Regions from separate parts of the Homo sapiens genome. Here all the other regions are linked to region 4. Evidence: promoter capture Hi-C in 16 types of primary human blood cells and fetal thymus (Javierre and others, 2016). All regions are on one chromosome and are shown on one strand. Each heading gives the region's core, a stretch centred on a gene start or on the middle of the fragment in contact. The rest is flanking DNA. Distances are from core to core; before and after follow the strand shown.

Region 1 (3,049 bases), core at 448-2,947, 280 kb after region 4:
TGACCGTGTGGCTCTCCTCCCGCTTCCCTTCTGCCCCCCTCCAGCCTTGAAGTCCATTGTTCTCTGCATCTGGTCCAGACTGAGTCTCTGTCTGGGGAACCCCCAGCCTCCCACTCCTCTTGGAAGCTTTTATACGTTTCCCTCTCCCACACCTTCCCCTCCCTTTCATCTATGTCTTTCCCCCTTCCTCCAATTCTTCTCTCCCCAGTTTTGTTTATAAGAGTCCCGTGAAGCACATCTCCTTTGCTGCCCCCAACTCTCCTTTTAGATGTTTTAAGGGATACCCTATCTTCCACTCACCTCCTCATAAGGTGAAATTCAGGAAGGAAGGAGGTGAATGAGCAGTTTGCTTGGGTGGGCTTTGAGGTGGCCTTATTGCTTCTTATTGTGCCCTTCAGTTTGCTGCCCCCAACATTCTCCCAGCCTTATACCCACTTCAAGGTTGATCCCTGAGGCTCATGAAGCATTTGAGGTGATGAGAATGAACGCCAGCTTCCCTAGATGGGTGTTTGCTACTAAGCCCTTGGGGCCAGAGATGCCATGTTTGGACCCAAGTGGCACTAGTCAGGGCTTATTGGCATGGAGGCCTGTGGTCATCAGGACTGGGGTGGCTAAGGGACAGTCACCTGCACTCCTTCCCTTTCTCTCTGGCTTTTCTTTCCCTTAACTCCATATCCCACTCCTGAGGTTTCCCAACTATTTCACTGAAACCCATTAAACCATAGCAAGGGGCCTGAATCCAGGGCCACCTCCTACAGCATGGCCCTGGAGACAGACAGGCCACTCACAAGCTCTGAGACACTGCACAAGGGACTTAACCTCTCCTAGCCTCTGTTTCCTTCTCTGAGGGCTGTCATCGATCTCACAAGGTGGGGTAAGGACTCAGCACAGGGCCTGGCTCAGAGAAAGCACTCAGCACATAAGGACTATGATTTTGCTGTTTATTATCTTCCAAGTTTTATGCCTCATACGCAAATGGCAAAGATGGCCTTGCATTTGTCCCTTCACTTTTTTCTTTGCCTCTTTGGCAGGAATCCCATTTCTCAGGTCTCCCTCAGCTTGGTGTGGGCAAGGTGCTGCCTAAGCTACTAGGAGCCCCTGGGAGCTCAGGGACACAAGGGTGCCCATTGCCCCCTGCTGGCAGCCCACGTGACAGTCTCACTATCCGCCCCGCAATCGTCCCCCTGTGTGCCTGACAGTGAACAAGGCAAGGGGCTGACAGTCGCAGGTGGGGGCAGGGAAAATGAAAGGCGAGAGGCCAGTAGAATGGCTCTGGAATCAGGCCTGGGGGTCCGGGAGGCTCCTCATGGAGGGCACACGCTGAATCCTGACGGACCTGGAGGAGTGAGCCCGAGGAAGTTGAATAGGCAGGAGACAGGCAAAGCTGGTGGCAGGGGCAAAATGGGCAAAGGCCCCGAAGTGGGCAGGCTGGCTCCTGGCTGTGCTGCAAGAGGGTCAGTGCAGTAGTGTAGGGAGGAAGGTTGGGCAGGGGACATAAGCAGGGGTCCTCAGATGATGCAGTGGCCTGGGTTCCCATGGCTAAGAATTTAGACCTTGTCCTGAAGGTCGTGGAGTGCTTTTGAAAAGCTCTACGCAGGATAATGAGAACAGCGACCACATGCCAGGCCTTGTCCTAAGTGCTTTACCTACATCCTCTCATGACGCACTCACAGCCATACCATCACATTGAAGATGCTGAGCACACAGCGTTAGGTAACTTGCCCAAGATCACACAGATGTGCCCTCCAGAAAGGCCTTTTGGCTGCACCCTGGAAAATGGCTTGGAAGGGAACAGAGAAGAGGGAGGGAGCCTAGTTGAGAGTAATGCAGGGGAGCTTTGATGCAGAAAACTCGTTTCCAGAGCGCCATCTGGTGGCCAAAGGCAGAGAAAACGGCACAGAGGCAGGGACCGGGGACAGCCACGAAAACAGGAAGTGGGTGCCTGGGGTTCATAAATATCCACAGCTCCAGCCCCGTGCTACACAGAAGAATACAACAGGAGAAGCTACTCACTGATGACAATAGTATCTCTTAATGGAAAACCTAACGTGGACCAAGGCCACAGAAGGAGTTATGGAATTCATGATAATTTTACTTGTGTTAACATTTATATTCTTCAGAGGACATTGTTTTATCTATATATATTTTACATGCAGTTATATATCTGTTGGGTGTGTGTGTGTGTGTGTCTGTGTTTTGACTGGGAATGTGAATGCAAAAAAATGATGCATAGGTCGCAAGAAAGTTTGAATTTAGATTTCATAGGTGGTTTTTATTGTTTGTTTTATTCACACTGGGGACATGAAGCTAAGATTACCCTTTGAGATTTCAAAGCTGGCAAACAAGGCCCCAGACTTTTTTAAGGTGATCACCTCTGGAAATGAGGTCCCCATTTAGCAATTTTCTCTCCTCCTTCTGGCTGCAGGGGTCAGCTGATCTTTAGCAGTCAAATGCCAAGGGGTGAATGGAGCTGTCACTAGAGTTCGTCTGGAAAGGCGACGTTTTCCTGAGTTTTGAAAATAGGTTTGAAGGAGTGGAGGTACTCTGAAATAGGTTTGAAACAATTGAGGACAGCCTCCCTTAAGTCCAAAATATTTTTTTTAAAAGGGCAGGATTAGGGTTTGTGCTTGAAGGCCTCACTAACCACCAAACTTGGGGTTGTTCACACTTGGGTTCTTAACCACAGGGAGGGCTGAGGGGTGAAGTGGGAAGGGTGGGGGTTCAGAGAATCTTCTTAAAACACCTGGAGTCCTAAGGAACCTTGAGGGGTCAGACTAGTAAGGTGTGACTCTGACCCTTGGAGGACTCCCAGGCCAGCTGAATGAAGGCTGAGATCACACCTCGCCCCTACGAATGTCCCGCTGGGCTGGCTGCCCCACTTCCAGGGCTCTGGTCTTCCAGGCTTTCTCCTCGTGAATCTCCCCTGTGGTTGCCACAGCATCACCACCAAGACAGCTTTGGGGAAGCCAAGAAGCATCCTCCGGCTTATCCCAGGTAGGGAGGTGGTTGGACCGTCCAAGCTCAGCGTCTTTTTTCAGGAAGATCTTGT
Region 2 (3,415 bases), core at 916-3,415, 300 kb after region 4:
CTGAGCCACTGCACTCCAGCCTGGGTGACAGACAGAGACCCTGTCTCAAAAAAAAAAAAAAAAGAAAAAGACAAAAGATGTCAGAGTTGCTGACCTCAAGGAATAGCTCATTAGTTTTTCTCTTTGGATCATACAGTTTTCATTTCCCCATCCACCAATCTAATCTTTTAAGTGAGAGTACTTTCACAAACTAGAGCTTATGGTTTAAAAGCAAAATTAAACCTTAAAAAGGATAACACAGGTAGAATAAAAAGGAGTATTACTTTACATTCTAATGTCTGTGCCAGAGGCAACAGATGCAAGACAGTTGATTTGTCCAGGAATATCAAGACTGTTTGGCATTTAGGCCACTGATAGTTGGCTTAATTATTTAGATCTTCATAGTCCTATTTCACCAGAGAGCTTTTCATACTTTACATCCACGCATGTGCGTGCATGCACGTGCATGCACACACACGCACAAAACAGGGACAGATTAACTGGATGCGTGGTTGTGGTTTCAGATTCCAGCCAACCAGCATCTACTTAATGCTGGATTTGGGGGCGGAGGTGTGTGCTGGGGAAGAGAGTTGTTTTATGTGTTACAGCTAAAATTACAGTAGAATTCTTAATCAAATAAATGTTTATGCATATAATTAACATTTTAATTGGTCTCTTATATTCCTTCTTGGTTCAGTTCTTGTTTGTTGCTGTACCCTGATTCCTTGGCATTATGACTCTCACCTGTTAATGGTGAAATTGACACATAGAGCTGTCATTCCCTGAATTGGGGCGGGTAGACAGAGGGAAGTGGTTTTAGTTTTCTAAAACCTTATTCCTTATTCCTCCCCCAATATACTTACACAGTCTCTTTCCCGTCCCCCTTCCATTTACATGCATTCCAGCTGCCTTTCTCTCTCTTTTTTTTTTTTTTTTTTTTTTTTTTTTTTGAGATGGAGTCTTGCTCTGTCACCCAGGCTGGAGCACAGGGGCACAATCTCAGCTCACTACAACCTCTGCCTAGTGGGTTCAAGTGGTTGTCCTGCCTCAGCCTCCCAAGTAGCTGGGAATACAGGCGCCCGCCACCACACCTGGCTAATTTTTTGTATTTTTTAGTAGAGACAGGGTTTCACCATGTTGGCCAGGCTGATCACCAACCCCTGACCTCAGGTGATCCACCCGCCTTGGCCTCCCAGAGTTCTGGGATTACAGGCATGAGCCACCACGCCCAGCCCCAGCTGCCTCTCTTGAGAAGGGACTGGGGTAGAAAAGAGGTTGGAGAATGGCTTCTTCATAGGACTTGGTAGCTCACACAGCACTCATAGCTTCCCTTTTAGTATTTATCACATTTTACAGATGTTAGCAGATTTCTCAAAAGCATGGTTGATTTATAAGGATATTTATGCAAATGTGAAAAATCATTAGTTGTTCAATCTTAACTCATCAATAAGTATTTAAGGTAGTACCTATGCAGGGTTTAGTCAGTGGCACTACACAGAGTGTAAGAAACAGAAAATCTGGTCCCTTTTCATTTGTCATTTAAATTTACAAAATTTGTTTGCCATCTGGAAGGCATATTTTTGGATGTTTACCTAAAAAAGAAAAGCTGCTTATAATTCCTGTGCTCTAGTTAAAAATATTTTATATTTCTAATGGAAAATTCTCCAACATTTGCCTTTCAAATTGAACAGACCACTTTTAAAGAGGAAAATTCCAAATAATTTAATTTTGGTTGCTTAGCTTAGGAAGTGTAAGCTTTCTCTATGGCTGCCAAACCTTGCTGAGGGCTTGTGATTAGGACCAGGGTCAATATCAGGCAGCTTCCCTCCATTAACCAGGATCTGATATAAGCCCAGATTGCTTACTTAAAAGCAGCTTGTAAATCTGAACAAGGACTCTGAGGTTGAATTCTGTTAGTGATTGTTTCAGATGAGTTGACTTTTTGATAAAACTGAAAGAATTAATTTTAAAACTTGGATAGTATTTTTAAACTATTCTTTTTCTAACCATTATTCTAGGATACGAACAGGGCTAGGACTCCTAATGGAAGAAAAATAGTTTATTTTTAGAACTAGATCTCTTTGTCCTACATGAGGTATATGGCAGTACTAAAAGATTAAAGAACAGAAAAAAGTCTTCCATTTCAGTGGCTAAAATGTACAGCTATTTCTCTACCTTACGGAGTCTTGCTATTTCTCTTCTTCTCGTGGTACTTCTTGCTTCTGACTTTATGTTCTACTCTGGCTCATGTTGCCGAATAGTTTAAGAAGTGCTCCAGTAAGAATGTTTGTACTGTTTTGTATGTAGCACAGTGTATCACAGCAGTAAAAAATAGTGTTAGAATAAGGGCCTAACTTGCAAGTGGAAAAGATTTCTAGGGAAACCAGGAGTTGGCAGCAGCATCATCTTTCCAAACTCACCAACATCTTCATGTGTTTTCTCCTAGCTATCTGCTCTATGCAAGCACTTAGACAACCTATGGGAAGAACACCGTGGCAGCGTGGTCCTGTTTGCCTGGATGCAATTTCTTAAGGAAGAGACCCTAGCATACTTGAATATTGTCTCTCCTTTTGAGCTCAAGATTGGTTCTCAGAAAAAAGTGCAGAGAAGGACAGCTCAAGCTTCTCCCAACACAGAGCTAGATTTTGGAGGAGCTGCTGGATCTGATGTAGACCAAGAGGAAATTGTGGATGAGAGAGCAGTGCAGGATGTGGAATCACTGTCAAATCTGATCCAGGAAATCTTGGACTTTGATCAAGCTCAGCAGATAAAATGCTTTAATAGTAAATTGTTCCTGTGCAGTATCTGTTTCTGTGAGAAGCTGGGTAGTGAATGCATGTACTTCTTGGAGTGCAGGCATGTGTACTGCAAAGCCTGTCTGAAGGACTACTTTGAAATCCAGATCAGAGATGGCCAGGTTCAATGCCTCAACTGCCCAGAACCAAAGTGCCCTTCGGTGGCCACTCCTGGTCAGGTAACTGTTTACCCTGCTGATGGTTGCCTCCTAATTCTCTTCCATAAATGGAGATATCATCTCAGGAACTTCCTTGATAGGGCTCATGGGGCAGTCCGAGGCCTTGGAGCCAGCCCACAAGTTGTTTTGCTGTATCCATTAAAAATGCTATGGTCTTAGTCTACTGCTTAAGCAAATGGAATGCTTCCTTTGGCCTTGCAGTGGGCAAGGATGAGTGTTAAAGTAGTTATTAAGTAATTGTGATAATTTACTTTGTATATCTGCTAGTAGGATCCCATAAACCTTGGGGAATCACTAGCTTATTCTTGTGTGAGGTTGGCATCTGAAGGGGACGTCTCTTAGAATGATTAACCAACTTTTTTATAGACTTCAGCAGAAGTACAGCCTACTTAGGTGGTGGTGGTGTTGTTGTTGTTGTTGTTGTTGTTGTTTTGTTTGAGATGGAGTCTTGCTGTGTCACCC
Region 3 (3,220 bases), core at 591-3,090, 260 kb after region 4:
GGCACTTAGTAATTATTCAATAAACACAAAATGTTTGTTGCATGAGTGTTTCTGATCATGTCCTACTCCTCCCACGTTGTACCCAAAATTTAGTAGGAGCTAGAAAATGCTTATCTATTTTCTAGGTACACACTATGTGCCAGGCCAAGCCTCTCCTTCCTCCTGTCCTCTCTTTTTTGGGATTTGGTTCTCTCCAGAGTTTCAAAGGTAGTGGTTGCCACATCACTCTTATTTCAGCCAGAGAAGAGGCAGCGTCAGTGAGCTGCCAAACTGAAGTTGGGTGACAGACAAGGCAGCTGCCTGTCAATCTCTGAGCTGCCTCCAGGCTCTGAGTGAGCACTGCATTGCACTCCTGGTGCTGGAGAACGGCTGACTATTGATTTAAAAAATGTCCCTCTATGCTTTCCAAATTAGGACGACATGTAACAGTGCTTGCTGGCTCGCCTGCTCCCTCAGTCTCCCAGGGGACAGAGCCCATCTTGGTGGAAACTGTTTTGAGCGTGTCCAAAGTCTCAGCTTTGACATCTTGGCTGATGTCAAGAAATTTCTGTAACCTTCCTGTTCAACACACCCAGTTCTGTTACCATAGACACGGTCTCACTCTGAGCTGTTATTGGGAAAGGTGCTGGTATCAGCTCATCAGGAGGGGACACATGGTGCAGGAGAGAACACTGTCCCTCACGTACATACACCCCCATTCTGATCAAAGTTCAGAACAGGAGCAGCTCTACGCAGGAGTTCTCCAGGTTCTGCAGGGAAGGCAGGGCTGAGGGCTGACCTAGAGGATTGTAGTGCTTTCTAATCTTAATTGGGCCCGAAATCTCTTTGAGAATCTGATCTAAGCACCTACTTCTTTCCATAGAAAAAATGCATATCCTCCCAATTTTGCATGTAGTTCAGTAGGTTCATAGATCCTGAAGTCTAACCAAAGACGTCAGATTAAGAATCCTTGATGTATTAAAAAGACCACCATACTAAATCCCAGATCCAAATCCTGATTTGAGCAAGCACTCAGTTAAATGTCTTAATTTGGAAAGCTCTCCCCCACAAACCTGCCAGGTGGCCTTGGGCAAGTCATCTGCCGTTTCTTTCTATATTCTTGGCTATAAAATGAAGAGTTGAAATAGATAAAGTTCAGACTCTTTATGACAACTGCCCATGTCTGTGGATGTTTAGATAGTATCTTAAAGCAATGCTGTGTAACCTTTTAAAGGTCAAGGTTTCCTTTGAGAATCTGATGAGAATTTTGTATCTTCTGCCTAAAAAAGTGTCTAGACACAAAGTTTTACCTAGTATTCAGGGTGCCCAAGGAGTACAGATTTAGGGCTTTTGAACTAGAATGATGCAATGGTCCCATGTGTCTAGTGATCCAGTTGCCAGCTATAGCTCCAGCTTCCTCAGGTCATCTCCCCCTGCCCACTCTCTTCTCTCCACCCTCCCAACATCTGCTCTGCACTGAAAATCTGCTGGTAACTGGGAGGTCACCATGGTCTACTCCAGTACTGTGGTTCTCAGACTTTGCTTTTACATCACAGAGTCTTTTTTTCTAATGAAGTCCTACCTGGAGCTCCAATATGGATAAAAGGGGCCTCTGAAGCATTTATTGACACATTTATTCATTCATACATCCATTCAACAGCTATTCATCAAGTGTTGCTTTGTAGCAGGCACCTGGCTGGTCAGGCTGGAGACCCTGCCTGCCTGCTTGATATCCCCCAGTTTCTCTCACTGGCCCACAGAACCCAACAGTTCTGTGATCCAGCCTGAAAATCACAGATTCTGTAAGGAGATCACTCTGGCCTAGAGTGAGGTGAGGAGAAACTCTGCCCCTGAAACTCATAACTTTGGGGAGCCTCATTTTCTTCATCTGTAAAATGGAATAATGATACCACACTGTATTCCAAGTATGTATGATGCACATTATCCCTAGTTGGGAGTATGATTGGCCCATTTCTTGAACAGTGAACATGAGCACTGAGCTCCAAGAAAGGACAAAAAGAGGAGCAGATAGAGGAACTTTTGCCTGCAGTGTCCAGGAGAGACCCACACTATTTAGAAGCTAGCTGATTGGCTGCTCGGAAATTTCCAAGAAAATTATAAAGCTGAACCTTGGGAAAATATCTGCTGTTTCTTCCCTCCCCCATCCCCTGGAAGGCTGGCTGCTGTCAGTGCCGATTTCATAGACCCAGTTCACACAGCGTCCTCTGGGATTCACAAGCCTGAACCTGCAATGACAGAGGAAGGTTTACCCGCAAATGGGGTTGGGAAAGATGACATCCGCACTTGAAGAGCTACTTGTTGGGAAAGAACGGGTCTGCATCAGTTCAGATCCAAGTTCCTTTTGCCTTGTGCTTGGGAATGTAGAGAGGTGCGGGCCTGGATGGCTTTGGAAATGTTCCTTTCAACAGTGTTTCCCGAGGGAGCTCGAGCAAGTTCACTGCTGCCAACAGCTCACCTCCAGGGCCTTCCCTTCTCCTGTCTTTGGTTGGCAGGCTGGTGTCAAGGTTGAAGGCATGGGTTTTGGTGTTGGCCCAGCCTGGGTCCAAATCCTGGCTCTGGCTCTACTCCCTGCTTGATCTTGGGAAAGCCACTTGACCTCTCCAAGCCCCATATCCGTGTCTGTGAAATGGGGTTAATAATACCTCCCTCCCAGGATTGTTGGAAAATCAAATTAAATCCTATTGTAAAGCCTGGTGCCTGGCTCATGTAAATGCTTTATAAATAGTTGTGCTTTCTTAGCTCTAATTTTGCAGCTGAGAAGCAGATTAGTTGGTAACATAGTGATAGGGGAACAGGGGTAAGAGCACACATGTCTGCTATTTGTGTACCTGTTACTGTGTACCAAGGTGCCCCACTCCTGTCCAGGCCCAGTGTGACGGTCTTGCCAGGGATTGGATGACAAATAAACCCCACTCTATTACTCTTCCCTTCTCCCTCTTGACAGGTGCAAACAGGAGAATGAATCACTGCTTTTCCTTTATTGATAGGTCAGAGAGCATTTCCTGGCACCCCCAGGGTACAGCCCCCTGACTCCTGCTACCCAAGAAGGCCACCCTTTCCTGCCTGTGATACTCCGTGGCATCTGTTCTGCCAGAGGACTGACCCTTTGTGCTCCACATATGTTTTGCCAGGAAACACTTATCTCAGCCACAAACCGTCCCTGTCCTCCAAAAGACTCAGAGCTGCTTACAAGGGGCTGCTTTGGTCAGTCAGCTGTTAG
Region 4 (3,180 bases), core at 138-2,637:
TAAGCATGGGACAAGATGCTAGAATGCTGTGGGTCAGAGTGGGATAGGGAGATGCAGAGGAGGGGCCAATGATGTGGCCAATCAGCTCTGGAGTAAGGTAGGGAGAGGGGCAGCCTAGATAGGAGGAAGGAGGTGCAGACGCCCCCTCCCTCTTGTTTCCAGAGCCGATGTATGCAGGCCTGCCGTCCTAATCCTGGTTGTTCCCAGTCCCTCCTCCCCTTCCACCTATTGTCTCTGCTCAGACTTCCTTCCTGTCCCTCCAGCCCTGGCCGCCTCCACATCCTGCCTGCTTTGGTCAGGCTGCCGGGAGAGCCCTAACCAGTCCTAATGTGTGGGGTCCCGGCCCTGGGTGGAGGCTAATTGAAGAATAAGGATGGGGATGCCAGAGAGATGAGGCCTGACCTCTGGTCAGGGGTACTCCAGAGGCTTCTGGACTCTCTGCCCACCGGCAGCATGTTCACATGCTGTTCACCTGTGTGTGCACATGCCCTGTAGCGATTTGGCAGTGTGAAATGCCATCCCCCCACCTCTGCTTTCTCCAAGCCTTCCTTTTCTGAGCTTGCCTTTTCCCTGCTCATTCCCTTGGGCTCAGGTCTCTGTGCTCTGTCCCCCTTCCACCAGCCTGACCCCGACCCTGACCCTGGTCTATTTCATAGACCTGTCTCTAATTCTGTGGCCCCTGAGTTTTATCTCTGCCTTGTCACTGTCCCTGCCCCATTCCATCTCAACCTCTCAATTCTTCTTTGTCCCTCTCCTTGTCCCACCCTGTTTTGCTCTCTGTTATTAAGCTTGTCCTTGACTCAGTCTACAATTCTAACCAGATCTTGAGTTGTATCTGTGTCTCTGTCTGCCTCTGAGCCTGGGTTTCTGTCTTCCGCCTCGGCCTAGGCTCTCTCCCTGTTACTCTTGTGCTCTGTCGGTGACCAGGACGCCCTCTCCGTCCCAGCATCACTGCTGGCCTCCCTCTGCCTCTCTCCAGCTGGGCCTCATTCCCAAGCCAGGGCCCGCGTGCTGAGCCTCGGGCCCTGACTCAGGGCCCGGTTTCCCGGTGACTCAGGCCGGGCTCGACAGCACGGGGCTGGGAGCTGAGGTGCTCGCGGGACAGGAGTGGCGGGGGCGGGGCGGGCAGTGGCGGGCAGCGCAGGCTGCGACGAGGGAGGGGGCGAGGAGGGATGGGGCAGAGGCCGGGCAGCAGGAGGGAGGGGCGGGTCGTGGCAGGGATGGGGAGGGCCGCCGGCGCCGAGGGGGCCTGGGAGCCCACGAAGGCCCTCGAGAAGGTGATGGGGAGGAGTCTGGGAAGCAGGGACCCGGGGGGCGCGGGGGTCCTCACCTCACTACGCGGCCGCCGTCCGCTCGCGGGTGCCCGCCGCTCGTCCGAGGTTCTGGGTCCCGCCGCGCCGGCCCCGCCTCCCCTCTGCCCTCCCTCGACGGGCCCAGCCCCGCCCCGCCCGGCCGGTTCCCTCCGCGGGGCCCCGGCCACTCCTTGTGCAAGCGCAGGCCTCCAAAGGGTTTGGGCTTCTTGCCCAACCGCCGCGCTTATCTCCGAGTCTGCCCCCAGTCTGCCCTCTCGCAGGCCGAGAAAGGACCAGAACACGTTGGGACGAAGACAACCTCAGGGAGAGGGACAAAGAGGCAGAGACCGGGACGGAGACTGGGACGGAGGTAGAAACTGAGAAAGGGAGAGTGCCAGGGACGGCTTTGCATCCTCTCCGCTGCTCCCATGCCCTCCAGTCCTGCCAAAAGGGAGGAGGAAAGGTCGAGCCCTAATCCCCCAGGGCACCTCTCCCACGCCCGGAAGGGTGGCTGGACCCTGGCAACCAGTTTAGTGTGGGGACGGAAGCTGGACATCCAGAATTGAGACTTGGCCTGGGCAACAAGCGCAGAGGCCCAGCAGAGGGGTACCCGTCTGTTTCTCCCCACTTCCATCCCCAAGGGCCCGGCCTAGGTTCCTTCGAGGGATGAAGGTCCGCAAGGCACATCCCTACTTCCAAACCAAGGTTTGGGGCTGCCTTTTTGGGACAGGCGGACGCCCTGCAAGCTCAGTGACCAAGCAAGCAGCTGTTTCATTCATGGGAGAAGCCGCCCCTTCTCCCCAACTCCCACCCTAAAATTTCAGGGGGGATGCCGGGGAGGCCTGAAGAGGAATGGCCCTTCTCTCCTTCGCTAATCTTGCCGGAACCCCGGTCCTGGAGCCTGTCTCCCAGGGGCGGAGGCACTTCCCTCTCTGAGCAGGACCAGTGTTTGGGTGTGGGGGGGGGGTGTTTGTGTGTGTGTGTGTGTGTGTGTGTGTGTGTGTGTGTGTGTGTGTGTGTGTGTATGTGTTGGGGGTGGCGGGGGCGCTGGCCGGCTGTGTTTTCCTGTTTGTATGAGAGGAAGTTGGCTGTGAGTCAGCAGACACAGGAACTGTCAGTAGCTAGGGGAAGACCCCTGCCTCAGGGGAAGAAGAGGGGAGTGGGAGGAAGTGGTTCCCACCTCTTCCAGCTGCCTCAGCTAGGGGAGGGACTGTCATCTTCAACCTACTGGAGCCCCACTTTCCCGGCCTTCCCTTTGAGAAAGAGAATTATAGTAATAAAATAATAATTGCAATAGCCATAATAAGGGCTACCAATTATTGAGAGCTGACCGTGCTCCAGGATCTATGTAAACATTGCTTTGCAAACTTTAATCCTCACAAATATCCCTACAAATAGGAAATTTTATCACCTCTATTTTACATATAAGGAGACAGGGAGCATTAAATAACTTGCTCAAGACTCTGCAGCTAGAAAATAGCCAACCCTCCAAGTCTATATCTATAACTACCATGCTCACCTACCACCCTGGACAGGACCCCTGCACCATGTCCTTTTTTTCAGATGGGCAACTGTGGTGGCAGTGAGAATGCTCCTCACAGATCTTACACTGTGAGGAGTGAAATTAACCAATGGCCCCAGCTGCTTCTCTCTGAAATCTAAGGCCAGCTTCCCACTGGGCTGCTCCCAGCCAGTGACAGAGCTCAGCAGAGATCTAAGGCAGACCCATTCCTGGGAGATAGGGGACTCCTTTGACAGCTGACTTTGGATCAAGATTTCCCAATGGCTTTGCTGAACTTTCCTTTGACTGGTGTTTTAGGATGCTCCTCTCAACCTTTATTCCTTCCCTCTCTCCTTCACAGCTCTCCTAGCTCCAGGCTCCCTTCCT
Region 5 (3,503 bases), core at 83-2,582, 430 kb after region 4:
GAAGCTAAGACAATAATCATATTAATATAACCTCTACACTGCCAACTTGGAAAGGCAATGAAGAAGAAATGGGAATTGCAACAAGCTTCAGAGATGGAAGATTTTGTTTTTCTCTGTAGGACATGTGGGTAGAAGCAATTGCAGATGGCTGGGTGTGAAAGAAACAGACCTTGCAAGCCTGCTATATAGCTATACTGTGCTACATGGCATTGGGAGGTAATAAGATTTAAAAGACAAATACTCTTGTCTTCACAAAGCTTATAATTTAGTTGTGCAATACTGGGTAAGAAAGCTGGCTTAATGGAGTTGTATTCCAGCTTCACCCCTTAGTAGCTCTGTGTCATTGGGTGAGATATTTAATTTCTTTGGGCATAACTTCCTCATCTGTGAAACACTGATAATTGTATCTCCTATATGGCAGCTATGCCAGCCTCCTTTCTGTTCTTCCACAAGACAATCTCTCTCTGGACCGCCCTTTGCACCTGTTCCTGTGGTCGGGAAAGCCTTTAGCATGGCCAAACCCTTCAAGTTTTGACTTCATGTCACCGAGTCAGGGAGCTTTTTTGGAAAATATTGTTTCCGATTCCGCAGATGAGGCTGTTAAAATACTAAAGGATGGCATAAACATGAGGATGCTATTATAATCATCCACCCTAAGTAGGATTTGAGATCCAAGCAGTTCTCAAGGATTTAGGGTTAGCAAACTTTTTCTGTAAAATGTCAGATAGCAAGTATTATAGGGTTTGCAGGCCATACCAAACAAATGGGTGCTGCTGTGTTCCAATAAAACTTTATTTATGGACACTGAAACTTGAATTTCATGTACTTTTCACAGTCATGGTGGCAGACCGGATTTGGCCCCCTCCCTGTCGCTGGCTGACCCCTGGTTTATGAGTACGGCAGATAAAAGAAGGGAGTGAATAAGAACCACGATTCTGCTGCCAGACACGAGGGATCAGGTCGCTGCTGTGAAGATTGTCAACCTCTCTGGTTGCCAACGACCTCGAGAATGGGGTTGTGGTCCCTGCGTCAGGGCGGTTGTGCTGAAGGCTGGATGAGGGCACGTAGGTGAAGCTCAGTGCTTGGCACGAGGTGCTCATCAGCAGCATCGCCCTTGCTTTGGGCTGGCCTGTTAGTAATTCGTTTTTAGTGGAATCGAATACAACACTTGAGCCTCGGAGGCTCAGGTCGTCGGAGCAACTACACCAGGGCCGGTGCACCTCGGGGCGGCGGCGCAGGACTAGGCTAGGCCGGGCCGGGCCGGGCAGGGCGGCGCGAGTCGGGGGTGGGGCGGCGGCGCAGCGCCGTCGTCGTAGTCCCCGCCTCTTCCCCAGGGGCCGCGTCGGAGCCTCGGCGGCGGCGGCGGTGCTTACAGCCTGAGAAGAGCGTCTCGCCCGGGAGCGGCGGCGGCCATCGAGACCCACCCAAGGCGCGTCCCCCTCGGCCTCCCAGCGCTCCCAAGCCGCAGCGGCCGCGCCCCTTCAGCTAGCTCGCTCGCTCGCTCTGCTTCCCTGCTGCCGGCTGCGCCATGGCGTTGGCGTTGGCGGCGCTGGCGGCGGTCGAGCCGGCCTGCGGCAGCCGGTACCAGCAGGTAAGCGGCGCCCGACTCCAGCCCCGAACTCCGGTCCCTGGCTCTGCCCTGCCCGCTGGCCGCCTCAGGCCTCTCTGGCCGGCCCGCGGCCAACTCGACGCCGGGGCTTGGCAGGCCGCGCTGGGCCTGGAGGGGCGGGTCGGGCCCCGGGCTCGGATTCGAGGCTGCCACGGGCCCGGCCTGCCCGTCTGCGACCCCAGGTGGGACTCCGGCGGTGGAAAGTCCTCCTCCCGGCCTCGTTTCCCGCATTTCCCAGGGCGGGCGGGTCCCTGAGTCAGAACCCGCGACCCACAGGCGGCATCGATCTGAGGCATTCGTTTTTCATTTTTCCACCTTTGGTTTGATGTCATTGGAAAAGAAAGAAAGAAAAAAGCATGAAACGGAAACTGGGTGGAGAGAAAAGATTAAAATCTCTGCTGCTGCCGATAGCTCCCCACAGCAAGATGCTATTGCTCAGGGTTTCAGAGCCTAGTTTGTCGAAACCCATCCCCCTCGCCTCCGTTTTAAGACAAAAGTAAAAAATGAAGCAAGAGACAAGCCCGCAGTTTGCAGTAGATTTGGAAGAGGCGATGTTTGGCTGTGGTGATGCCCCAAAAGGGAGAGCTACGATGAAGTCTGCAGGGCGTGTGCCGGGTGTATTTTAAATGCTTGGAAGTGACGTTTTAAGAGATTTGATGGCATAGCTGGGGAGGAAATGTATAGGAAATGATTGGATCATTTTCTCGGGTTTGATTTAATACATTGAGGCCCCAGGGAAAAGAGCTGCTTGTTTCACTCCGCGTCTGTAGCTAAGTTCCCCCAGGAAATTTAGAGACCTTCTGCAGGGTTTTTGGAAGTGTTAATCTAACATACAGTAATGGTGGGAATTGAGCCAGGTGGTAAACTGATGTTGATTGGAACCGCAAATAACGGCTTGTGTTTGTCATGTTTCAGATGCTTTCGGTGCATACAGATGTCAATCCTCCTTTTATCAAATAAAATGTCCTATCTTAGACGATCTACAATTTTATATTTTAGAAGTAAGGAAAGCCAGCCAGTACGATGAAAACGTAGATTAACCCTGGTGCGGCCGGCCGGTTACTGGTTTGTTTTGCTATCATCAGCCATGTGTTGCAATCCGTCCCCACTCAGGCTTGGACTCCCAAAATGACTAGTTAAGAATTTCACTTCTTGGTTTTATAAACACGGCCCAAATTGTGGCAATGCAGTTAATCCTTAGATCTCTTCAGAGCACATGGATCTAGCACATGCTTTTTTTCTATGACCTTGGGCAGCCTGCGGGTTCCTTACTGCTTTAATAAAATGGGAATAACAGATGCCACTTAACTGTCACCACAGTGTTTGCAAATCACCCCTACTGTATACTGTCATCTGATTTCATCCTTTTCATCCTGACTTGGATAAGGCTAACGAGCAAAAGAGCTGTGGTTTTTCTTTGTACTGCCATCTTCTTGAGCTATTAGGTAATGCTGACATACTGCTAGAATATAAAAAATTTGCTGGAGTATCAAAATCATGTATTCCTTAGTGTGGCATTTAATATTTTTTAATTATGCAGAATTGAAGTATAAAAAAAAGAGAAAAAAATCTTCCTAGAAAAATTGTAAAAGATGAAAGCCCAAAAAACTGCAAAACCCTCCCTAAACAAAAACCAAATAGATAACCAAAGGTAATATTTTAATGTGCATTCTTGTGGGTTTATAGCTATGTAAATATACATAGTTATAGATCAGTATATGTGTGTACAGATAAGGAATGCAGGAAAGCTAATATTGATTTTTTTATGCAACAATCACAGTATTAAGTAATTTACATCCATTTTTTTTTTCTTTTAATTCATACCAAACCCTTATGAACCAGGGTTTGTTCTCATTGTCAAAGACTCAAAGTGGCTCAGTAACTTGCCTCAAGG
Region 6 (3,088 bases), core at 586-3,085, 460 kb after region 4:
TTTGTTCCACAGTTATTTTTCAAGTTTTTTTAAATTAGTTGCCAACATTTTAAAAATCAAAATTATTTCACATAAAACGCCTGAATGTTTTTACTTTTCTTGAAAGTTGGAATATCAAGAAAAGCTAGCCTACATTTCACATGGCACCCTTTGGCTGGAGCTGAGTTGTTGCTGTCTCCTCCATACAGGTCATGTGCCTTCCAGTTCAGTAAGATCCCACCACCATACCCCAACTTAGTATTTGAAGGGGTAACCCCTGCTCAATAGTCACTTGTTGCTTTGGGTCCCAAACAGAATGATGTTCCCCAAGCTCAGAGCTGACAGCTCTTGGTTACTGCTAAAAATCAGTTCAACTGTCCAAGTACCATTTTCTACCACTGAGTATCCCAGTAAAAGTATTTAAAAAAAAAAATGTGCTAAAGGCTCAGAGACCATCTCTGAAAGAGGAAGGCCAGGAGGAGTATCTGAGTTTCCACTGGAGGGGCATATCACCTCTCTGCTGACAGTTTTAGGAGGTACAAACTTTTGTGAATGTATAGATTCTGGTGTAGTCACACAAAAAGAGTCTTACTAAGAATAGAGAAATAGGCTGGGTACAGTGGTTGACACCTATAATCCCAACTCTTTGGGAGGCTGAGACAGGAGAATCACTTGAGCCTAGGAGTTGAAGGCCAGCCTGAGCAACATAGCGAGACCCCTATCTCTACAGAAAATTAAAAAATTAGCTGGGCATGAACCTGTTATCTTAGCTACTTGGGAAGCAGAGGCAGGAGGATCATCTGGGCCCAGGAATTCAAGCTTGCAGAGGCTGTGATCATACCGCTGCACTCCAGCCTGGGCAACAGAGCAAGACCCTGTCTGTTAATAATAATAATAATAATAATAATAATAATAATAGTAGACAAAGTTTCAAGTTGAGACGATGAGAATTGCTGTAATAGATAAGGGGATCCTGACATCTAGTGGACAACATTATATACTGTCGACAGAAAAAACAGCCCATGACAAGGAAGGTTACATTTTTTCTTTTTACTTGAGAAAAACACAGTTATAACCTCTTTTTGTTGTTGTTGTTGTTGTTGTTGTTTGGAGTTCATTATCTTGGAATGCTTTTTTGGAACTCAATAGGTAGATTTTGATGTTTCTCAATGAGGCTTTCATATGTAAATGTTTGGCTCCATCTTATTTTTTATTTCCTTTTTAGACCAATTCAATTCTGAATGTGCAAAAGACACTATTGACTCTTACATTATACCTTCTCATTGAAGGATGGATAATTTGGTATGAAAATCCTCTGCAGATTCTGGAGGAAATTGCTAATGTTTTGATTACCTTTAGCAGAAAAATAACAATGTATCGCTATCAGGAGAGGGATTTCTGGGGAGGGGACTTAACATGGAAATTATAAATTCATTCATGACTTTTCTTTTTTAAATTAGGCTTTCTCCTGTTTCTCAGAGGATTTATCAATTATGCAAAAGTTCGGAAGATGCCAGAAACTTTCTCAAATCTCCCCAGGACCAGAGTTCTCTTTATTTATTAAAGGTATTAAAGAAAAAATTTATTCTAGTCCCAGTGTAACCATGTGCTACATTGTAGATTTCTGTTCAGTTTTAGAGTAAGTATCTGTGATAGGGGCATATAGAGAAAGTAAAGAAGGCACAGTCCCTGCCTTTTAGCAGTTTCTTGTCTAGTAACAGGGATTTTTACAAAAAGCTATTGATAAAGTCAAATTAGAAAAACTGCCATAGGAGAAATCATTACTTCATGCTTTGACAGTGTGAAAGAGGCAGGGGTCTTAGCAGTCATCAGAAAGCTGGGATATTTGGCTGCTTGACTGAATTCCAGCATCCTGAAGCCACTGCTTACTGTTGCACCAGTTCCAGAGGATGACATTCAGAAGGAACCCTTCAGGCCTAATCACTCATCTCTGCCCCTAAATCCCAGAACCTGGAGAGACTGTGTAGTACTTTAAGAACTCCTTTTGTCTGGGCTGCTGACAAGCCCACCAAGTCTTCCATCTTTTAAAATTGTCATTGAGGCTTTCCCCATGGCTTTCTTCAGGTTGACATTCTGATACCACTCTAATGTGAGGAAGGTCAAACTCAAGAAAAGAGGAGAAAGGACCTTTTCCCTTGCCTAGAACAGGAGGACTAAGCCCTGCCAAGGCTCTTTGATTCACACATGATTTTCCCCAGAGGCTGACACTCCATCTTACATCAATGGCTGCCTGAAGGAAGAGGTAGAGAATCTTGAGAAAGAGTACACCAGAGAGAGCTCTCTGTGGTAGCAAGTTCTAATAGGCTTTCTTGGACTTGGCTGTTTGTTCCTTGGGGCTTTGGGGACTGTGTTAATCATAGAGTGGAACCTTGAGCACCACCTAGAGGCCAGTCCAGTTGAAGGTCTTAGGCAAAGCATTATAAAGGATAGGTGGTGTAGTTCAGATAAACTTTACATGATAGTGGAGAGTGTGGGGAAGAATTTCAGAATCATCTGAGGCAGAGTGAAGAGCAAAAATAGGGAAGTATGGGGCTTGTTCAGAGGATAGCAGCTTGATTGGGGCATAAAGGAGTATTGAGGGTCAAGGCTAAAAAGTCAGGTTGAAACAAGTTTCTCAGATACCTTGAGCACCAAGCCCATTTGCAGTAGAACCATGAAATTGATAGAGCCAGCGACATGTTGGGTCAATGCAAGACTAAGCCCACGTGGAGCACGAATTTGTTCTGTACTCGCAGAGTGTCAGTTTATATAGGCAATCATATACTAATCGTGAGGTTCTCAATTTTGAAGACTTGTGGTGGTCTCAGGAGGTATGCTTCAAGAAAATAAAGCATCTACCATAGTTGATTTTCCAGGTGATAGAACAGCATTGAAAGCTTTTAGGCAACAGAATCATATAATGAGACCCTCTTGAATATAACAAACATTTTTTCAAGCATAGTATAGTAAACTAAAATTAACACTCATGGAGTTTTCCATGTGTCAGATAATATATTAAGCATTTTACATGGATAATTAAATGTATGTAGGTAAAGAAGGCTTAAACTGCTTTTAAAGTTAGTTTCATTATTAAAAAAACTAGTATTCA
Region 7 (3,387 bases), core at 832-3,331, 450 kb after region 4:
AATATATAAAGTAAATGTACAGGCCACACAAACTTAATGATTATTTCTGAACAGCAGTAAAATAGCATACTCAGCTGTTTACCAAAAGAAATGTGCTTGTTTACTTTTTGTAATTATACTGCCTTGTTTTGGTAGGATTTAGGGACTATGCAGAAGTAGTGGGTTGGTAATGAGAGCTTTAAAAATTGCATTTTAAGGTAAAAGTTTTAGCAATTAACTCTAAGATAGAAGTAGTAAATAACATTCAAAACTAGAGTTCAAGCATTGACCCAGAATTTTCTGATATTTATTTTTAATAACTTAAAGAAGGGACTTGAAACTTACAAGAATTTTCTTGCTGTTTAAATATGACCAAACCAAGAAAAAATTAAGTAGTGAAAATACTTGCAACTTTATGGACTTACTGGATACTTCAGCATTATTTTTCACGTGCTTTGTTTGTTTGTTTGTATGAATTCTGAGGTGTATGTTGATACCTTTTCTCATATATAAGGATTTATGGGTTTTGTTTAGTGTAGGGTTTTTTGTTGTTCTCTCATTCTTAGTAAATATAGATAATCCAAGAATGACTTTTAAGTGCCTTTAGGTCCTGCCATTTGCTACAGTTATAAATGTTGCCCCTTGCTTAGCCCTAATCCTAGCCCCAGCTCTGCTATTGCTTAAAAACAACTCATTTTAGAACTGCTTAGTGAGGAGGGCGGTGGTGAAGCTTTCTTGCTGATTGGGAACTCAAATAATAGTTTAAATCTGTAGGGTATAATGTCTTAAACGTGTTAAATTCAAGTTTGTTTCTATTAGAATTAGAACTATATATGATTTCTGTGTTGGAGATTCATAAAAATGTCATATTTATTTTTAATAACAATAGGACCTAGATACAGAGGAAGGTGATAAGGAGGGAAAAAAAAACGCTCTATTTTATTTTATTTATTTATTTATTTTTGAGACAGAATCTCACTTTGTCGCCCAGGCTGAAGTGCAGTGGCTTGATCTCAGCTTACTGTAACCTCCACCTCCCCGGATCAAGTGATTCTCGTGCCTAAGCCTCCCGAGTAGTTGGGACTACAGGTGCATGCCACCACACCTGGTTGATTTTTGTATTTTTAGTAGAGACGAGATTTTACCATGTTGGCCAGGCTGGTCTCAAACTCCTGACCTCAAGTGATCCGCCCACCTCAGCCTCCCAAAGTGCTGGGATTACAGGTGTGACTTGAGAACAAAACCTTAGTAGCACCTATTTGTAAATAAATGTTTTCTTAAAATTGAAGGTCATCAAGGCCAAAGGCACCATGGCAGATTGTGACATATCTGAAGTAGGAAGAGTTTTAGGGTTCTTCTGGGGAGCCATTCTAGTCTGCTCAGCACATAGAAGGGAGCAAAGGTAATCAGGAAAAGAGTAATGGCACACTCTGGGTGTGAGAAAGTGAAAGGTCATCTGAATTCTCAGGTGATTGGATTATTTATTTCTTAGCGATGGAGGCATAGGTAGTTATAGGTAGTTCTGTATTAAACTCTACTTTGTATGGCCTGTGTAGGTAATTGTATAGCTGTATTTGGAAAAAATGCCATTTAAATCATATTTCAGCCGGGTATGGTGGCTCACGCCTATAATCCCAGCGCTTTGGGAGGCTGAGGCAGGCGGATCACTTGAGGTCAGGAGTTTGGTACCAACCTGGCCAACATGGCACAACCCCATCTCTACTAAAAATACAAAAATTAGCCAGGTATGGTGGTGCATGCCTGTAATCCCAACTACTTGGGAGGCTGAGGCGGAAGAATCACTTGAACCCAGGAGGCAGAGGTTGCAGTGAGCCAAGATGGTACCACTGCACTCCAGCCTGGGTGACAGAGTGAGATTCTGTCTCAAAAAAATAAATCATATTTGAAGTTTAGTAAAATTGGTCAGAAATTATATGACAGGAAAAAAAATCCAGTGTCCAACAGCTATTTATTATCTATCACAGTCACTCAAAGGATATCCCCCCTACCCTTGCCCAACATCTCTGTGCACTGAGAGCAGAAGTTCCCAGATCTGTCCCAGTTTTCAGATCTGTCTCTCTGAGTATCCCCTACAACCCAGATTCTGTGACAGTTAAATTGGACTCGGGCTTCCACTGACCCAGTTGATGGAAGAGACTGAGCATCTTTCCAACTCTAACCCAAACGTGACAATGCCGCGTATTCTTTCAGAAAGTGTCAGGAAAGAGCCCGAAGATCCCTGAGCTCCAGGGACATGGCAGGGAGGCTGCACAGAAGGGTTCCCAGGGGTGGAAAAGGGGAATCTTAAAAATAAATTTTGGAACCAAGTAATCAATTTTATAGCACACTCTAGTTCTAGCGCACATGGTTCCTCCACTTGTTAGTGAATGCCTGACTTGTTGCCCCTGAAGTGTAAAAAGATGTATATTTAAGGATTCCATTGTTCAGCAAGTTATTATGCATGCAGATGGCAGGCACTAAGTGCTTACTCTTTTTGAAGGTGATTGCCTCTCCCCGCGATCCCCCTACATTGCAGTGTTTTGTTTTAAACAGCTTTCTTGATGGAGCCTAATCTTATCACCAGCATTATAGAAATAAGCCAGAGTGAGAAGCCTGTACAGTGAGGTCTTGGGATTATACCATAGTCATAATGGTGTTTTAAATTGTTTTTATTTTTCAATTGAAAAAAGTACACTATTCTAAAGTAGTGAATTTTAGTGGAGCAAACTCTTCACCTGGAAGTGTTTTTTTCCTTACCAAAGTGAAAATTGGTGGTTCTAAGAAGGCTGGAATTTATTTGCACTGTCATCTTTTACTATGGTGGGGGATGATCAAATTTAACATTTCCAAGTTTCCAGGAGACAGGCAGCCTATCTTATAAATATTGTCATAGAAGACCTCTTAACCTCTTTGTTCTTTGGATTTCTGTATTTCTTAGAATTGTCATGCTTCCTTTCTGAGACCTAAATTATGCAGGGGTAACGTGATTACTTTGACACCAAGCTCAGGAAATATAAAACGGGTTAAGTATAAACCAAGCTAGGTTTAAATGAAGTTCATTACTGGCTACAGTATATTAAGGGAACATATTCGAAAAGTCTGTATTTGCCTTTGTTCTTGCTGCTGACTCTTCTGCTTCTTTTGGTGACCTTCCCACAGCACAAGAGTGGTTAGGTGTGAGGAGGCTAAGAATACCTTGCCAAGAGCTTCAAATAATGTTAAAACCAGTATTTTAGGTGAACCATGGTCCCAAGAACTCTATTTAAGTAATTCCTAGTTCGGTGTCCCAGGAGCATTTGGCTTTACTGCACCTATTTTGGCCACATGTCTTTGTTTAAAAGGAAAAATTATCTTAGGTTATAATACAGCTATTTTGGGAGTACCTTAAGTTTAACATTAGATTACTAG

The links. Contacts are between HindIII fragments. The CHiCAGO score rates a contact against its expected background, and 5 or more counts as called.
Region 1: a fragment that was not itself captured here is called in contact with the fragment with the promoter of ARAP3 in region 4 in 17 of 17 cell types (endothelial precursors, activated CD4 T cells, megakaryocytes and 14 more); the score reaches 20.2 in endothelial precursors.
Region 2: a fragment that was not itself captured here is called in contact with the fragment with the promoter of ARAP3 in region 4 in 6 of 17 cell types (endothelial precursors, M2 macrophages, naive B cells and 3 more); the score reaches 7.0 in endothelial precursors.
Region 3: a fragment that was not itself captured here is called in contact with the fragment with the promoter of ARAP3 in region 4 in 16 of 17 cell types (endothelial precursors, activated CD4 T cells, fetal thymus and 13 more); the score reaches 9.5 in endothelial precursors.
Region 5: the fragment with the promoter of NDFIP1 here is called in contact with the fragment with the promoter of ARAP3 in region 4 in 2 of 17 cell types (megakaryocytes and total CD8 T cells); the score reaches 7.5 in megakaryocytes.
Region 6: a contact is called between a fragment that was not itself captured here and the fragment with the promoter of ARAP3 in region 4, in 5 of 17 cell types (total B cells, naive B cells, total CD8 T cells and 2 more). The highest score is 7.9, in total B cells.
Region 7: a fragment that was not itself captured here is called in contact with the fragment with the promoter of ARAP3 in region 4 in 3 of 17 cell types (fetal thymus, total CD8 T cells and megakaryocytes); the score reaches 5.9 in fetal thymus.

What each region holds. Positions count from the first base shown.
Region 1 is chr5:141,959,035-141,962,083 of GRCh38, forward strand. It overlaps a transcript of RNF14 not described here. Among named protein-coding and RNA genes, the nearest start is that of PCDH12, 2.4 kb to the left of the region's middle. The HindIII fragment of the contact is 3,146 bases long and covers 125-3,049 here.
Region 2 is chr5:141,975,878-141,979,292 of GRCh38, forward strand. RNF14 (ring finger protein 14) reads left to right here. Exons shown (of 9, transcript NM_004290.5): 5 at 2,426-2,953. Among named protein-coding and RNA genes, the nearest start is that of RNF14, 8.5 kb to the left of the region's middle. The HindIII fragment of the contact is 866 bases long and covers 1,733-2,598 here.
Region 3 is chr5:141,942,006-141,945,225 of GRCh38, forward strand. PCDH12 (protocadherin 12) reads right to left here. Exons shown (of 4, transcript NM_016580.4): 4 at 1,576-3,220. It overlaps DELE1 (DAP3 binding cell death enhancer 1), which reads left to right. Exons shown (of 12, transcript NM_014773.5): 12 at 1-42. Among named protein-coding and RNA genes, the nearest start is that of PCDH12, 15 kb to the right of the region's middle. The HindIII fragment of the contact is 7,155 bases long and covers 1-3,220 here.
Region 4 is chr5:141,680,843-141,684,022 of GRCh38, forward strand. ARAP3 (ArfGAP with RhoGAP domain, ankyrin repeat and PH domain 3) reads right to left here and starts at 1,388. Exons shown (of 33, transcript NM_022481.6): 1 at 1,331-1,388. RefSeq lists a silencer at 1,388-1,437. The HindIII fragment of the contact is 6,366 bases long and covers 787-3,180 here.
Region 5 is chr5:142,107,447-142,110,949 of GRCh38, forward strand. NDFIP1 (Nedd4 family interacting protein 1) reads left to right here and starts at 1,333. Exons shown (of 8, transcript NM_030571.4): 1 at 1,333-1,591. The coding sequence starts at 1,529. RefSeq lists an enhancer at 1,084-1,585 and silencers at 1,163-1,432, 1,493-1,622, 1,693-1,762. The HindIII fragment of the contact is 16,858 bases long and covers 256-3,503 here.
Region 6 is chr5:142,143,132-142,146,219 of GRCh38, forward strand. It overlaps NDFIP1 (Nedd4 family interacting protein 1), which reads left to right. Exons shown (of 8, transcript NM_030571.4): 7 at 1,440-1,545. The coding sequence ends at 1,543. Among named protein-coding and RNA genes, the nearest start is that of NDFIP1, 36 kb to the left of the region's middle. RefSeq lists an enhancer at 2,247-2,336. The HindIII fragment of the contact is 2,078 bases long and covers 797-2,874 here.
Region 7 is chr5:142,126,091-142,129,477 of GRCh38, forward strand. The region is part of intron 1 of NDFIP1 (Nedd4 family interacting protein 1); the gene reads left to right. Among named protein-coding and RNA genes, the nearest start is that of NDFIP1, 19 kb to the left of the region's middle. The HindIII fragment of the contact is 2,749 bases long and covers 708-3,387 here.